Regions from separate parts of the Homo sapiens genome. Here region 1 is linked to region 2. Evidence: promoter capture Hi-C in 16 types of primary human blood cells and fetal thymus (Javierre and others, 2016). All regions are on one chromosome and are shown on one strand. Each heading gives the region's core, a stretch centred on a gene start or on the middle of the fragment in contact. The rest is flanking DNA. Distances are from core to core; before and after follow the strand shown. Region 1 has its middle 43 kb from the start of PLEKHG7. Region 2 holds the start of LUM (lumican).

Region 1 (2,775 bases), core at 185-2,684, 1.5 Mb before region 2:
GGACTTTTTAAAAACATAAGTACAATATCATTACCACATCTCACAAAAGGGGCAATAATTCCTCAATATTGTCTAATACTCATACCATTTTAAATTTCCTCAGTTATCTTAAGAAGTTGGTTTGGTTTCAATCAGCCTCCAAAAAGGTCTACATACAGCATATGGTTGGGGTGTATTTTGAGTATTTCCTGATATAGGTGACTATATCAATTAGTTTTAGCTATTAAAGCACTACAAAGCTCAATGGCATAAATCAAGCTTGTCCAACCCATGGCCTACGGGACCACATGCAGCCCAGCATGGCTTTGGATGTGGCCCAACACAAATTTGCAAACTTTCTTAAAACATTATGAGATTTTTTTTGCAATTTTTTTAAAGCTCATCAGCTATCCTTAGTGTATTTTATGTGTGGCCAAAGGCAATTCTTCCCTTGTGGTCCAGGGAAGCCAAAAGATAGGATACCCCTGGTGTAAATCAACATCCCATTTTGGAAGAATTTGTGGTTTGGCGATTTGAGCTGGGCTCAGGTGTGAGAAGGTGCTAGGTCAGCTGGAGCCTGGCTGGTGTGTCGTGGTGGTTGGGGTACAAAGCTTACCTGGGATGGTTCATCTTTGTCCCAGGTGGTCTCTCATCCCCCAGTAGGCTACCCTGGGTTTACTCACCTGGTGTCAGGTTTTTTTTGTAGCAATTAGGAAATCCCAAAAGGTCTCTTAAAGCCTAGGCTTGAACTGCAATGCTGCTTTGTCACATTCCATTGGCCAAAGAAGGCACAAGACCAACTCCACCTGTTGATGGGAGAAATTGCAAAGCTATATTGCAAAGGACGTAGCTGTTAAGGAAGGGAATAATTTGTGAAAATTTTGGCAATCTACTATAGCCACTTACCAAACTTGTTTTGATTTCCATAACCCTTAAAATCTGTCAAAGAATACATATCTCCTAAAGCTTACATTTTAACTTCAAACTATTCTTAAATGAATAGAAATTGATCACTAATAAATTTTTAAGAAATATTGTCATTCAACACAGCCATATGATCTTTTTGTTCTTGTACAAAAAATTTTCTCATTTCCTTTAAGTGGTATAAAGGCATTTATTTCAATGCCTGAAAAAGTTTCATACAATGTATAACTAGAACATAATAAAAAGTTCGAGGGCCAGGTGTGATGGCTTATGCCTGTAATCCCAGCACTTTGAGAGGCCAAGGTGGGAAGATCACATGAACCCAGGAGTTCAAGACCAGGCTGGGCAATATGGTGAAACCTTGTCTCTACTAAAAAGACAAAAAATTAGCTGAGCATGGTGGCATGTGCCTGTAGTCCCAGCTACTCAAGAGGCTGAGGCGGGAGGATTGCTTGAGCCCAGGAGGTTGAAACTGCAGTGAGGCATGAATGGGCCATTACACTCCAGTCTGGGCAACAGAGTGAGACCCTGTTTCAAAAAAAAAAAAAAAGTTTTGATTCATTTTAATTTCAACATGTAAAATTGTAATGTTTTGTTTTGTTATTTTTCTCTTTCCAGAGGGTTACTAAATACATTAAACTGTTGGGAAGGGCATTGTATTTCTCTGGTCCAGGGCAATAATTCAATAGGGATCAAGGAAAGCTCTTTGTAAAAGCTATCTATAGGACAAGGGCTTAATTTATGTGGTGGTTTCTGCTAAATACCTTGCATTAAAGAAAAACTACCAACTGTTAAAGAGCAATGGCAGGTCAACTTACTTTGGTAGTAAAGGGACGTGATGATGAGAAGGTTGATCAAACAGGTGTAAATCTTTTCTGAATCTACAGTTTTAATTTTGCCTGATGATAAAATTATAGGCTTTATCATGATGAACTGCGGCCGGCTCATACTAGCTTGTGAGAGTCACTGGCCTCATATCTTTCTAATTCCATGTTCAGTAAAGTCATGTTGGAAGCTTGATATTGGCCAGAGTGAGAGTATTTACACCATGGAAACTGGCAAATGCTACAAAAGAGGGCCTCTTTTTGTTTTGTTTTTTTTTTTGATGGTCAGTTGTTAAACATTTGTAGCATACCACTGGCCTTTACCCACATAAAAAACAACAGGTACTGCTTTCCAGGCATATTTAAAAAGAGTTTCTTTTGCAATGAAGGACAGTAATCATGGAAGGAGGGGAGGGCTTCCCTTGGCATCTTTTCCATCCATATGTGTCTCCAGATTGCTGGTAGCCTGGTTGAGTATGAGCAAAGATTAAGAAATGAGAAGCAGAGACCAGGGAAAGGAACAGGGAATGTGCCTGGTCCTTTGCTTACGCTATTGACTCTGACTTTCATCGGGCTCAGGCCAGACATGCTCTTCAGCTTGTTTCTAAGTGCTCAACATCCTCTGAGTCTTTTAACAAGAAATGTAGAAATGGAAGCAATTCTTCATATGTTACGGAATTCAGCTACTTGCCATGCAGCCCTGATGAAATCCCTTACCTGCCACAGTGTTTCCCATCTGCGAATCAGAGATGGGAAATCTGCTCCTCCTCATTGTGCAAGTAGTTATGGTTAAAGCCAGGTTAGGTTGCCTCTCCCTGTAGAGTAATAAATGGAATAGGATGAGATAATTCTTAAGAGTCCCTCTGAAGAGGGCTCTCCATGGAGAAGGAAAAGGAGAAGGAAATTTGGAAGCCGTCGGGTAAGACCTTGTTGAAACTGTAGTTCATAGAATAGCAGCATTGGTGTCACCTGGGAGTTTGTCAGAAACGCAAAATCTTAGGCCCTACCCAGAACTATTGCATCAGAATCTGCATTTTGACAAGATTCC
Region 2 (2,700 bases), core at 150-2,649:
TAGCATTGTTTTAAGAATCCTCTTATAACAAGATCACTTAATTATATTCGATTGATTTGTCTTTTTTTCTTAATTCCTTATAAATTTATTCAGTTACTTTGTTGAAACTGAGGCCTATCAATAATTTTCTTAAAATAATATTAGGAAAAATGTTATGTTTATGAATCATCTTACAATTCCATTAGTTACTTTCAAGAAGATTACTTTTTGTTTTTGAACACTGCTATTACAAAAATAAGCCATTTATTCTAATAGTCTTTTTTTCGGACAAATGCAGTATTAGTCATGGAGTTAATTTTCCACAAGTCTCACTGCTAAAATGTGATATAGTTATTTTTAAAGACAAAAATACAATGTGACAACTTATATTAAAATATATTGGTGTAAAAGTTCTTATAAACATGAGGAAATGAACATTTTAGAAAAAAATCTCATAAATATATCTGATAAAATCACAAAATGAAATAGACAAGGATTTAAGTACATCTCTCATTTGCTGAAACCATGCATCAGGAGCTGATAATGAAAGATATATCCAGCCAGGCCTTTGGGAGATTATAACTTTGAATAACTTTTAACTTTGAAAAAAAATTACTAGCATGCAATGAAAGATTCTTGCCTTGTGATACTTTTAGTATAAATTTATTTTTTTCTCTGTTCTTTTATGTTTTTTGGCATTAAGCTATAGAATGCTCTCCCCAAGTAAGGTTTTGGGTGAATTCCTAAACGAAATCCACAAAATAAAAAACAGGCAAGACTTTGCTGATTGGTTCCAGACCTGAATAACATAAAATGAGTCTCCTTAGCATTAGAAGTAAACTTGAAATGTTGATATTTATCATGTGTATCCAAGTGTATATGAAGCATATTTTATATTTTTAAAACTAATGTAAGCTACCCTCATGGCCAAAAAATTAAGTTAGTCCAAGTAAATCAATATTGATTTCAAAAGTGATAGGCAAAGGGATTCAATTCCTCTGAGTCTGTTCATTTGCGTTTTCCTGAAATTATTTGCCCTGCTTATGATTTCTGAGATCTTTAGATAAACATGATAGTTGGCTGAGCACATTGCACTTAATTGTTGCCACAGCCACAGATGTAAAGAGGCTTGTAAGAAAAATGTTCTCACAGTGAGCTTCCTTATTTGAAGCAGGACTCAATTCTTGGTTAAAAGCTATGGTATTTGAGCTAGTTAAACACATATCTCTCTCCCATTCCATAGGGAATGAGCTGGGCTGTCCTTTCTCCCCACGTTCACCTGCACTTCGTTAGAGAGCAGTGTTCACATGCCACACCACAAGATCCCCACAATGACATAACTCCATTCAGAGACTGGCGTGACTGGGCTGGGTCTCCCCACCCCCCTTCAGCTCTTGTATCACTCAGAATCTGGCAGCCAGTTCCGTCCTGACAGAGTTCACAGCATATATTGGTGGATTCTTGTCCATAGTGCATCTGCTTTAAGAATTAACGAAAGCAGTGTCAAGACAGTAAGGTAAGTGCTGTTTTAACTATTGCACTGGGGATGTTAACTGTTTGGGACAGCGTTTTTTGTAACAGGAACAGGAAAAATTCCAGAGCAATTTTGCCAATTGCTATTCAACAGCAAATCCACAGTTCTGAGCATTTAGTTTCACATTTTGTTAATATGTTTTCCATGATTTATAGATTTGAGATTTTATACAGTATATGCTGTATTGCTTGGCAAGAGAAGTTATAAAAAGTTTCAAGGTTAGAATGAGAAAATAGTTAAAGTAGACACAGTGAAAAAATATAGAAATTAATATGTTTGTTATGTATGCTAGTTAGTTATATATGTTAGTATTGGACCCTAATACTGGAGCAAAGAAAAGTCATTTTAATCAGCATTCAAAATATCTTTTAATAAGCATATTGTGACAATTTGTTATAATTTACAATAAACGTTCTATGTTATAAAACATGAGCTAAAAGATTTAGGAACTCTTATGGATTATTTATTTCTGTTTTGTTAATTTAAAAAATTTGTTTCTTGGATATATGCCTTAAGGAACGAGTTTTTTAAAAAGTTCTGGGAAATGATTTCGTTTTTGAAAACAGCATTTTCTCTATAGCCACAGGTATTTGAAAAAACTGAGGGTAGTACAGTGTGATTTTGCCTCATAGTGGAGTCATTATATGGTTGCAAACTCTCATTCAATTCAGCATCCTTGTTTTTACTTTGCCAAAAAATATGGAAGCATTTTTCATTACTATTTAATACTCACATTATAGTTGCCATATTTTGGTGTATAGTAAATTTAAAATAGCTTATTAATAAAGCAAGACAAATCTTTACAGTATTTACATTCTATAACTTAAAATAACTCTGGGAATATGTCATCACGTTCTTTTTAGTGCTATGCAATTATTATTATGGCCAAGTTCTGTCAGCAAAATTAAATGCCCCCATTAAAATCTTAGAGAGTAATTTACTGAGAATCTGGCTACATGTTACCTTATGTCAGCAATCAAAGTATTTCTAAAAGCTGTTTTATAACGTTCCATCTGATCTGAAATAAAGTGCCTTACAATTTCAAATTAAAACAAATAAAAGACGTTTTCAGTTTCTAACCCCAAAGATCCTGCTTATCCCAAACTACTTTGATCCAAAAGCTTGTAATCATACTTTCATAGAAAGATATAATATTCTCAGTTATCTATTAGAATGTAGATCTTTCG

The links. The method cuts DNA at HindIII sites, captures the fragments that hold promoters and counts their contacts. A CHiCAGO score of 5 or more calls a contact.
Region 1: a fragment that was not itself captured here is called in contact with the fragment with the promoter of LUM in region 2 in 2 of 17 cell types (fetal thymus and total CD4 T cells); the score reaches 6.0 in fetal thymus.

The regions. Positions count from the first base shown.
Region 1 is chr12:92,658,208-92,660,982 of GRCh38, reverse strand. No RefSeq gene overlaps it. Among named protein-coding and RNA genes, the nearest start is that of PLEKHG7, 43 kb to the left of the region's middle. The HindIII fragment of the contact is 973 bases long and covers 948-1,920 here.
Region 2 is chr12:91,110,193-91,112,892 of GRCh38, reverse strand. It overlaps LUM (lumican), which reads left to right and starts at 1,399. Exons shown (of 3, transcript NM_002345.4): 1 at 1,399-1,495. The HindIII fragment of the contact is 5,015 bases long and covers 1-2,636 here.